Linked DNA regions of Homo sapiens: all the other regions are linked to region 1. The links are contacts of gene promoters, found by promoter capture Hi-C in blood cells and fetal thymus (Javierre and others, 2016). All regions are on one chromosome and are shown on one strand. Each heading gives the region's core, a stretch centred on a gene start or on the middle of the fragment in contact. The rest is flanking DNA. Distances are from core to core; before and after follow the strand shown. Region 1 holds the start of C12orf56 (chromosome 12 open reading frame 56). Region 2 overlaps C12orf56 (chromosome 12 open reading frame 56). Region 3 overlaps C12orf56 (chromosome 12 open reading frame 56).

Evidence for each region. Contacts are between HindIII fragments. The CHiCAGO score rates a contact against its expected background, and 5 or more counts as called.
Region 2: a fragment that was not itself captured here is called in contact with the fragment with the promoter of C12orf56 in region 1 in 3 of 17 cell types (activated CD4 T cells, non-activated CD4 T cells and naive CD4 T cells); the score reaches 7.1 in activated CD4 T cells.
Region 3: a fragment that was not itself captured here is called in contact with the fragment with the promoter of C12orf56 in region 1 in 5 of 17 cell types (activated CD4 T cells, non-activated CD4 T cells, naive CD4 T cells and 2 more); the score reaches 11.6 in activated CD4 T cells.

What each region holds. Positions count from the first base shown.
Region 1 is chr12:64,389,460-64,393,374 of GRCh38, forward strand. It overlaps C12orf56 (chromosome 12 open reading frame 56), which reads right to left and starts at 1,299. Exons shown (of 13, transcript NM_001170633.2): 1 at 855-1,299. The coding sequence starts at 1,106. The HindIII fragment of the contact is 6,871 bases long and covers 1-3,448 here.
Region 2 is chr12:64,298,030-64,302,048 of GRCh38, forward strand. All of the region lies in intron 6 of C12orf56 (chromosome 12 open reading frame 56), which reads right to left. Among named protein-coding and RNA genes, the nearest start is that of KICS2, 78 kb to the left of the region's middle. The HindIII fragment of the contact is 156 bases long and covers 1,466-1,621 here.
Region 3 is chr12:64,277,759-64,281,437 of GRCh38, forward strand. It overlaps C12orf56 (chromosome 12 open reading frame 56), which reads right to left. Exons shown (of 13, transcript NM_001170633.2): 9 at 1-45. Among named protein-coding and RNA genes, the nearest start is that of KICS2, 57 kb to the left of the region's middle. The HindIII fragment of the contact is 8,258 bases long and covers 1-3,679 here.

The sequences.
Region 1 (3,915 bases), core at 49-2,548:
CGCATCTGCTTATTCATGCATTTATTCTTTTGCTGGGGAGGGGGTGGAGGGGAACGGTGTCTCACTCATTCTGTAGCTCAGGCTGGAGTGCAGGTGGGGCGATCTCGGCTCACGGCAACCTCCGCCTCCCAGGTTCAAGCGATTCTTGTGCCTCAGCCTCCCAAGTAGTTGGGATTACAGGTGCACACGACCACGCCTGGGTAATTTTTGTACTTTTGGTGGAGACGGCGTTTCACCATGTTGGCCAGCCTGGTCTCGAACCCCTGACCCCCGGTGATCTATCCACCTTGGCCTCCCAAAGTGTAAGGATTATAGGCGTGATCCACGGCACCCGGCCTTATGCATTTATTCTTATTGAGCATCTAACATGCTCTAAGCATCGGGGGCAAAAAAGTAAATGAGATATAACAGCACTTAACACACAGCATTTATTTGCACGGGTGTTGGCTTTCTAGCCCTCCAGCGACTGCTTCTAGGTAGGGGCCCTCTTTCGTTTTTGCATCCTCCGAGTCTAGCACAGTGCCTGGCACTGACTAGGTGCTTTGTTAACAAAGGAATGACTTTAAAAGGTATTTTTGATAGGGAGCTCGGTTCTCAAACCTGTAGCCCTACGTGGGGTAGGGGAGGCGGGAGAATGGGTGAACAGGCAGACACGAGGAGAATGGGAGACGTGTTTGTATTAGGAGTGCTCACAGCAATCCACAGCTTCCCTGTGTTCCTCGTTCTCAAATAAGAGGAGGGGAGTCGAGGGCAGGATGGGGCAGCCCTCCCCGCGCAGGAGGGCTGGGTTTGGGGGCCCCAGCCGGGAGTTCTCACTGCGCTCCCGAGCCCGCCTGCCCACCCGCGCCGCTCACCAGGTCAATGGCCACGACGTCCCGCAGAGCCACTACCCGCCGGATGGACTTGGGCGGGTTCTCGGTTAGGTAGACGAGCCGGTCGCTTAGCACCACATACTTGAGGATGTGGTTCTCAGAGTTGGACACCACGATGCATGGCTCGTAGGCGCGGACCGCGTCGTAGACCTCGGGCGGCAGATGCCGCCGCAGGAACACATCCAGGCGGCTGTTCCTGCGCGCGGGGAAGCCGGACGGCAAGGGGCTGGCCATGCCCGGCGCCCGCAGCGTGGCGGAGTGCTGGGACTCGAGGCCCTCAGCTCGCCCTCTCCCCGCCCCCGCGCTGGAACCCGCGCGCCACAAAGCCGCCGGCCACGCGTCGCCTCCTCTCCAGGCGCGGGGACCCGGGCCGCAACTGCAGGAATCGACGCTAGGTCGGCTTCCCTGGAGCGCCCTCCCCAGCCCTGTCCAGCCTCTCGATCTTTGTCCTAACCTCAGACGGCGATGGGCGGGGCAAGACGCTGGTCCTTCAGGCCCGAGTTGATGGGCACCTCGGGCTCATCACCGTGAAGTCCCCTGCGGCCGAAGGGCGGTGGATTTTTAGGGTCTCTCCCGCCCACCCCTAATGCCAGTCCCCACCACTGCGTACTCTGTTGCGGATCACACCATCCAATACAAACTTTATTGGTAATGGAAGCCAGCTTCAATCTGGTTTCCTGTTAGAAACTTGAAAGAGTTTAATTTACCGATTTATTTTTAACAACCCTAGAAACCTATTAAACCCAATCACACAGATTTAGCTTTTGGTTATAACATGGCCTGGCACAGCTTTCTGATATTGTCGGAGTGTAAACATAGGTCTTCTTTCTCCAACCAGTGAGAAAGGGATTTTTTTTTTCTTTTCTCTTTTTTTTTTTGAGACGCAGCTTTGCTCTTGTTGCCCAGGCTGGAGTGCAATGGCGCCATCTCGGCTCACCGCAACCTCCCCCTCCCGGGTTCAAGCGATTCTCCTACCTCAGCCTCCTGAGTAGCTGGAATTACAGGCATGCGCCACCACGCCCAGCTAATTTTGTATATTTTAGTAAAAACGGGGTTTCTCCATGTTGGTCAAGCTGATCTCCAACTCCCGACCTCAGGTAATCCGCCCGCCTCGGCCTCCCAAAGTGCTGGGATTACAGGCGTTAAGTCACCTCGCCCAGCCTTTGAGAAAGGGATTCTTCACATGAATTGATGTGAGCACACCCAAACCAACCTAAGGCATATGGTTTTGTTTCCAATGCCCAGGACAATCTATGCAGGAAGAATGAATGGGTGATGCTGGCATCTTGAAAAGTTGAAGCTGATAGACTGAAGAATGCGGATTACATACCCTGAGGCTGCAGAGGAGTAAGTATTCCTTAGTTTTTACAGGCCAAGAATAACTTACTAATTAGGTTAGAGAAATGAGAAGGGCACAACAGAAATGCTCTAAGTCAGAAGTTCCATTTTTTATTTCGAATCCTAGAAAAGTTATTCTCTTCCCCTCCCCATTGACCCAAAAACCTGATAATGAAACCATATCGTTCATTGCTGTGGCTGCCAGCAACCCTGAATCAAATTTGATATATTCTTTATATTCTCCCTTTCTACATATTTTATTATTGTATACTGTATGTTATAAGCAACTTCAAATCCCTTGTGGAAAGAAGGTATAAATATATTACAATCCATAAACAGATATTGTAGACTACACTAGTACAAAGGGAAAGAGAAATGTTTTGGTCTGGCTAAACTTTTTTTTTTTTTTTTTTTTTGAGACAGAGTCTCCCTCTGTCACCCAGGCTGGAGTGCAGTGGCATGATATCGGCTCACTGCAGCCTCTGCCTCCTGGGTTCAAGCCATTCTCCTGCCACAGCCTCCCAAGTAGCTTGGACTACAGGTGTACACCACCATGCCTGGCTAATTTTTTTTCTGTGTGTATTTTTAGTAGAGACAGGATTTCACCATCTTGGCCATGGCTTGTCTCCTGACTTCAACTGATCTGCCTGCCTTGACCTCCCAAAGTGCTGGGAATACAGGCATGAACCACCGCCATGTAAGGGTCTGGCTAGACTTAAGTCTAAGATCATGTTAAGGAACTCAAGTGAGTAAAGAGAAGTGCCACCTGCTGGCAAAATCTTAAATGACCTAGTAGTTAAAGTTTTCTTAGGATCTCATCACACATCTGAGCCTTCCTAACTTCATAAATGGATGAAAAATGAATGAACTACACCATCCGTAGCAACCTTTATTGATAAAAGATGCCGCATGGCTATTTCCTCCAAAATAAAGACTACTCATTATCTAAACCACTCTAAATAGAGTTTGTTGCTTCAAACTAACAGAAAGGCAAAGGCGCTTCACCTCTGCTGAATAGCCACACCTCACAAAAGCAGTTGAAAGATGAATGACTACAATATCAGAGGTGGAAAGTGAGGCCCACATAAGGGAAAGGCCTTATCTTAGTCTACTATTTTGTGTCTCTCAGGCTTCCTACTTCATACCTACTTCCCAGGACTAAGAGAAACAGAATGACTGGACCAGGACCAAAAAAGACAGCATACTTGATATATCTGCCAAGAAGCCCATCTTGAATAAGCTTTTGGTGACAAGTGCACTAAGCTTAGCAAACATTAAAATGAAGCACAGGCTGGGTGTGGTGGCTCATGCCTGTAATCCCAGCACTTTGGGAGGCCGAGGCGGGTAGATCAGTTGAGGTCAGGAGTTTGAGACCAACCTGGCCAACATGGTGAAACCCCATCTCTACTAAAATTACAAAAAATTAGTTGGGTGTGGTAACACATGCCTGTAATCCTGGCTACTCGGGAGGCTGAGGCAGGAGAATTGCTTGAACCCGGGAGGTGGAGGTTGCAGTGAGCTGAGATTGCCCTACTCCACTCTGGCCTGGGCAACAGAGCAAGACTCTGTATCTAAAATTAAAAAATAAATAAATAAATAAAATGAAGCACAGAAAGAAGGGAATTTGACTGGGAGATTGGTGATCAAGGTGACTTCAGTTAAACTTTTAACTTCGTGGCACACAGAGAAGGCAATACAATGGTTT
Region 2 (4,019 bases), core at 294-2,793, 91 kb before region 1:
CATCCTCTCCAGCATCTGTTGTTTCCTGACTTTTTAATGATCACCATTCTAACTGGCATGAGATGGTATCTCATTGTGGTTTTGATTTGCATTTCTCTAATGACCAGTGATGATGAGCTTTTTTTCATGTTTGTTGGCTGCATAAATGTCTTCTTTTGAGAAGTGTCTGTTCATATCCTTTGCCCACTTTTTGATGGGGTTGTTTTTTGCTTGTAAATTTGTTTACGTCCTTTGTAGATTCTGGATATTAGCCCTTTGTCAGATGGATAGATTGCAAAAATTTTCTCTCGTTCTGTAGGTTGTCTGTTCACTCTGATGATAGTTTCTTTTGCTGTGCAGAAGCTCTTTAGTTTAATTAGATCCCATTTGTCAATTTTGGCTTTTGTTGCCATTGCTTTTGATGTTTTAGATATGAAGTCTTTGCCCATGCCTGTGTCCTGAATGGTATTGCCTAGGTTTTCTTCTAGGACTTTTATGGTTTTAGGTCTTATGTTTAAGTCTTTAATCCACCTTGAGTTAATTTTTGTATAAGGTGTAAGGAAGGGGTCCAGTTTCAGTTTTCTGCATATGGCTAGCCAGTTTTCCCAGCACCATTTATTAAATAGGGAATCCTTTCCCCATTGCTTGTTTGTGTCAGGTTTGTCAAAGATCAGATGGTTGTAGATGTGTGGTGTTATTTCTGAGGGCTCTGTTCTGTTCCATTGGTCTATATGTCTGTTTTGGTACCAGTACCATGCTCTTTTGGTTACTGTAGCCTTGTAGTATAGTTTGAAGTCAGGTAGTGTGATGCCTCCAGCTTTGTTCTTTATGCTTAGGATTGTCTTGGCTATGCGGGCTCTTTTTTGGTTCCATATGAACTTTAAAGCAGTTCTTTCCAATTCTGTGGAGAAAGTCAATAGGTAGCTTGATGGGGATAGCATTGAATCTATAAATTACTTTGGGCAGTTATGGCCATTTTCACGATATTGATTCTTCCTATCCATGAGCATGAAATGTTTTTCCATTTGTTTGTGTCCTCCCTTATTTCCTTGAGCAGTGGTTTGTAGTTCTCCTTGAAGAGGTCCTTCACATTCCTTGTAAGTTGTATTCCTAGGTATTTTATTCTCTTAGTAGCAATTGTGAATGGGAGTTCACTCATGATTTGGCTCTCTGTTTGTCTGTTATTGGTGTATAGGAATGCTTGTGATTTTTGTGCATTGATTTCGTATCCTGAGACTTTGCTGAAGTTGCTTTGATAAGCTTAAGGAGATTTGGGCTGAGACGGTGAGGTTTTCTAAATATACAATCATGTCATCTGTGAACAGAGACAATTTGACTTCCCCTTTTCCTATCTGAATTATTTCCTTCTCCATTCACTTTGGCCTTTCATTTTTGATAACTGAATTAGAAGATTTGTTTTAGCCCAGGTAAGAATATTATATTAAATAATGGCTGCAGTGTTTTCAAGTATAAAACAGATCATGAAAGCTTCATTTTTAGACATTGGATTAGGTTAATATTTCACAAGAGAACAGATTTGCAATTCAGTATGAATAACTTACAGCACCTGGAATATGCATGCATTGTGTTTTGGCCTGAGGGAGAATACAAAGATAAGTAAGACATATACTTGTCCTAAAGAAGCTTTTAGCATATTAAGATAAATAAGAAAAATGTGCCAATCACTATAGTAAAAGGGAGGATATCTGTGCTAATTCTCGATGGTAGAAACTGTATCATAATCATGCTATATTTCTAATACCTATCACCAAGCCTCACACAGATTAGGCATGAAAACTGTCTGTTAATTGTTAAAGAGGAAGTGCTATGAAAGATGTCATAGAACTACATTGTTCAACTCGGTAGCTACTGCCCACAAGTGTCTATTTAAATTAATGTAAATTTAATAAAATTAACGTTTTACTTTTTTAGTCACTAGTCACATTCAAGTGCTTAATAGCCACATGTGGCTAGTGTCTGCTGTATTGAACAATGCAGATTATAAAACTTCAAAGAAAGTTCTATGGCATGGAATTGACAGAGAAGATCAAAAGGAGGAAGGTACTAAAGTTCCCCATTAGGCATGACAGGAAAGGCAGAAAATGGCATTTGAGCTGAGCCTTGATGAATGGGTATGATTTTTAACAAGAGAAATTAGAAGAAGAGTATTCTAGAGAAAGCAAGCAGCAGGGAGAAAGGAGAGCTAAGGAGAACAAGTATCCAAGTTATCCTACATGGCTCGATCTTGTAGAGGACAGAGGTGAGAGAGAAGATGAAGTGGCGGGTCAGGTCTGTGAATCCTAACCTTACTCTCTTTCTCTCCATTCTTTTTTTGTTCCACAGCCTAGGCCACAGGTATCAGGCCTGTTTTTAAACTGAAGATGCTTAAATGACCTCCAGACTAACACTGGTGCTGATCCCATTAGGAATACACATCAACATCCTTCTTAATCTAACCCTTAAGTGGTACTTCAGTTCTCCTACCTAGACATGCACTTTAAATCCAGTCCCTGATTGTGTCCAGTGTATCTGGGTGGACTTCCCCTTTGAGCACTGTCCTAAGTCCTTTCCCAGTCCTCTCCTAACTGCTGGCTTTACTCTTGACAATCTTTATGTCCTCACATTCCATAAAACCCTGTTCCCACACCCTAAACAAGCAGATCTTCCTGGTGCCAAATGTTTGTGCAGACATCCAGTTGTAATTCACCCACATGCTAAAATATCCTGATATTTCATTTTGCTCACTCTTATGTAGAGATCACTCTCACCTTTGGGCACTGTGCCTTTTCCATGAGCATCTACATCTGGATTCATTTTCCCAGTGCCCACCTTATCCAGATGGTAGCCTGATATGTTCTGGTTCTGTGTTCCCACCCAAATCTCATCTTGAATTGTAATCCCCACTGTCGAGGGAGGGTCCTGGTGGGAGGTGATTGGATCATGCATGCTGTTTTCACGATGGTGAGGGAGTCCTCATGAGATCTGATGGTTTAAAAGTGGCAGTTTCCCCTGCACATTCTCTCTCTCTCTCCTGTTGCCATGTAAGACATGCCTTGCTTCCCCTTCGCCTTCTGTCATGATTGTAAGTTTCCTGAGGCCTCCCAGCCATGTGGAACTGTAAGTCTGTGGCAGGCCAGGTCTTCATAACAGCTGAACAGACAGGCCTCCATAACAACTGTTCCGGTACTGACTGAGTGGTTATGTTAAATATTAAAAGCTGATAGAGCCAGTGTCCTTTCACAAAGGCTGGGATGTAACAAAAACCCACCAAGAGTTTTGCCTAGGCCTTTCCTGGGCCTTGAAGCATGACAAGATAATGAAGGAATTCTTAACAGGACCTGTTTAGAATTAAACAAGTTTTACTGGGGGTCTGAAGAAACTCCTCAGGCCGCCACAAACAAGTTTATTGGCAGTCTGAAGGAACTCCCCAAACCTCCGTGATTTAGCAGGAGGCAAGATAAGGGTAATCACCCCAGGACCTGGACCCATTTAGATTGAGTAAATTTACTGAGGCCCCAGAAGAAGGTTTTCAGGACCTTCCTTAGGTCCTGATCTAATCTTAGTTATAGATTAAAAGAAGTTAATCACTTACGTCTTTAGATGAATGCATTTACATGTAGACATATAGCTTAGAAGGTATATAAGCTCTGGAAAACTTTGTAATTTTGAATTGGTCTGGCGATAATTTCCAGGCCTTTCCCTTCTTTCCCAGTTCATCTGTATCTCGTTATTGGGCCAAAGAATAAGCAGCCCGACCCTTGGTTTGGTCCAGGAACAAGTCAACTAAACCTTCTTTCTTTATAAATTACCCAGTCTCAGGTAGCATTTTTACAGCAGTGTGAGAATGGACTAATACACAGCCCTTTCCTGATAACCCCAGCCTACTAAAATAAAGGCCATACCTGTCCAAATTTGAAGTCTGTGATTAGTGGAGAGCCTTAAATGTTGAAGCCAAAGTCTTTACTAGCAAGGAAAGTCACAAGAAACTTTTGAACAAGCAATCCCATACAATCAGGGTTGTAGATTAAATTGATACTGTG
Region 3 (3,679 bases), core at 483-2,982, 110 kb before region 1:
TGAGGCTCACTAATTAAAATTACCAAGAGATTAAATAGTGCTCCCCTGGAAAAAAATAAATAAAAGGCAATTAGTGAGCAAAGTGTTGAGAGGAAAAATGGTGAAGCCAAGTTTCAAACACTGGATATAATTATGTTTAAAAGAATGAAGCATTGCAGACCATCCTTGACTGAAGTTTTGGATCCTTGGACACGCAAATGAATAACTAGAGATAAAAAATTTAAATGAAAATATAACTTCTTGGTCTTCTGGCTCAGAGCGAGTGTAGTTCTAGAAGTCCACATAGCTTAGAAAGACTAGAAAATCTGGATTTAAGGGAGATTTGGGTAATTTCAATTATAGCATTATTTTCCAAAGGACTTTTTATGGATTGCTAATTCCAGACAATATTATAGTTAAAATAGATTCTGTGGTCAAAGGAGATAGGGGAAATACTTGGTTAAACCAAGTTCATCAGATGTGTTTACTACAGGACTTCTCAGAGGCTTTATATGCTAATATGCACAGTGTATCTCTGGGACAAAGCAACAGTATGCAGCTCTTCTTTTTTCTTTTTTTAGGTTTGTTTGCTTGGGTTATTTTTGGCACAGGATCTCATGATGTTGCCCGGGCTGGTCTTGAACTACTGGACTCAAGTGATCCCCTGCCTCAGCCAAGTAGCTGAGATTACAGGCTTGAGCGACCACTTTCAGTTTTTACTTTTTTTAATTGATAATAAAAATTGTATATATTTATGGTATACAACATGATGTTTTGAAATATGTATATACTGTAGAATGTGTACATATTTTATAAATCAAGCGAATTGACGTATGCATCACCTCACATGCTTATTTTTATATAGTGAGAACACAAAATCTATTGTCAGCAATTTTCAAGTATACAGGACATTGCTATTAACTATGGTCACCATATTTGTATGATTGATCTCTGGAACTTCTTCCTCCTGTCTAACTGAAGTTTTGTACCCTTTGACCAACATCTCCCAATTCCACCCCGCCCCTAAGCCTCTGACAACCACCATTCTACACTCTCTGTTTTTATGAGTTTGGCTTTTTTAGATTCCATATATAAGTGAGATCATGCATGAACTCAAAAGTCAAACTCGTATTTGTCTTTCTGTGCCTGGCTTATTTCACTTAGCCTAATATCCTCCAGTTTCATCCATGTTGTCACAAATAACAAGACTTCATTTTTATGGCTGAATAATATTCCATTGTGTATATGTACCACATTTTCTTTATCCATTCACCCATTGCTGGACAGTAAGTTTGCTTCCTTTTCTTGGTTTCTGTTAATAATGTACAGCATTTCTTTTTTTTAAATATAAAAATTTTTAAACATAAAGATGGGGTCTTGCTTTGTTGCCCAGGCTGGACTTGAACCCCTGGCCTAAAGCAATCTGCCCACCTCAGCCTCTCAAAGTGCTTGGATGACAGGCATGAGCCTCCACACCCAACTCCACCATTTTGTAAAATGCTTATTTGATCCCAAAAAACCTCAGTTATTTTACTTTCCAATGTGGGGTACCGTCCATTGATAACTCACTTAAATGTTACATGTGCATCCTGATGAGCTGGGTTAATAACGCTATCTCCTCCTATTGGGTAGTATAACCCCTGTATGGTTGAAAAGCAGCTGAAGGCAGACTGCTAAAAACTCAGTTGCCTAATTGAAGACAATGTCAGAGTAGATTTGAGGGGTAGGAGTAGTAAAATAATTCAAAGATAGTACTATACAAAAGTTCTCCATAACCATAAGCATTCCTTTCATAATGGAAAAAAGGAGGGTGAGTATAAATACCCTTGTTTAGTAGGATCTGAGGCTTTCTAATCTTCTTAGAATCATTTAAATCATCACCATGATTAGAAGCTCATGATTAACCTACACTCTAGTAAAAATACAATGCTCTTCCTTTCTCCAAGTCAAAAAGCAAGTCTAGTTCTTATATTTGGAAAGAAGAATCATGTCAGTTAGTACATTTCTCACAAAAGCAGGATATACCCTACAGGGTATTTAATAATGTTTTATTCAGGCTATTTAAAATGGCCAATCTTACTTTGAGAAGACCCTTTTAAAATCAACAGAACACTCCCTTTAGAAGTGTTTCTTGATATTGTTTGAACTGGCATTCCATTCACTGTTATATTTAATTATAGTCCTTTATTTTCAGTAACAGCTTATTTTCAAAGTATCATACATCCAAAGCAAAGAAAAAGAACTCTCAAATTATGGGTCACTTGCTATGATAACATATGAATTCAACCCTAACAATACTAGGATATGAAAAAATATGGCACATTTCAAGAAAGTTACAGCAAAGTATGTTGAACTAATGAAATCTCCACTCATGAAAACAATAAAGAGGAAAATGCTGAAATGATTAACCGCTTTTTTATTTACCCAAATGGAATTTAATTTGAAATCCACCCCTTCTGCTAATTCAATTTAAAATCCACTAGGACAATAATAGATAGAAGAAATTTTAATCAAAATGGTAGTTTCATCCTGAAAATAGAGATAACTTAGAGGATTGACATCACAGCCTTAAAAACAGTCCCAACAGTTTAATACTTTATTGTTTAGGTTGTTATTATTTCTAATGTATGAATTTTGAATGTACTACAATATCTTTAAAAATACAGACTTTGAAGGCCACATCGATAGTCTCCTAAGTCAGTCCATGTTATTGTGGTGGGCAGAAATCTAACGTGGCTTCCAAAATTCCCAGCCTGCTGGTACAAACCCTATCAAATTCCTTCCCCTTAAGTATGGGCAATAGCTCTGAATATGTTTGTCTGTCACTCTTGTGATTATGTTACATGAAATGGGAAAGATGAAGGGATTCTGAGAATATAATAAAGGCCCTAATTGGCTGACTGTTGAGTTAATCAAAAGAAGATTATCCAGAGTAGGCTTGCTCTAATCAGGTGAGCCCCGAAAAAGAGATACTCTCCTGCAAAGAAACAAGCCACCTGAGTCCCACAGCTGTAAGGAAATTTAGTCTGCCAGCAATCACCCAAATGAGCTAGGAAGAGTCCCAAGCCTCAGATGAGACTATGGCCTGGCCAACACCTCAACTGAAACCTCGTGAGACCCTGGGCAAAGGATCCAGTTAAGCTGTGCCCAGATTTCTGATCCACTGACACTGTGAGATAAGAAATACATGTTGTTTTAAGCCACTAAGTTTGTGATAATTTGTTATATGGCAATAGAAAACTAATACAATTTTGGCTGGGCACGGTGGCTCATACTTGTAATCCCAGCACTTTGGGAGGCCGACGGGGGGTGGATCACCTGAGGACAGGAGTTCAAGACCAGCCTGACTAACATGGTGAAACCCCGTCTCTACTAAAAATACAAAATTAGCAGGGTGTGGTGGTGCATGCCTGTAATCCCAGCTATTCAGGAGGCTGAGGCACAAGAATTGCTTGAACCCAGGGGGCGGAGATTACAGTCAGCCAAGATCGCACCATTGCACTCCAGCCCTGGCGACAGAGCAAAACTCTGTCTCAAAAAAAGAAAAAAGAGCCCGGGTGCGGTGGCTCATGCCTATAATCCTAGCACTTTGGGAGGCCGAGGCGGGTGGATTGCCTGAGGTCAGGAGTTCGAGACCAGTCTGGCCAACATGGTGAAACCGTCTTAACTAAAAACATAAAAAAAATCAGCCGAGCGTGGT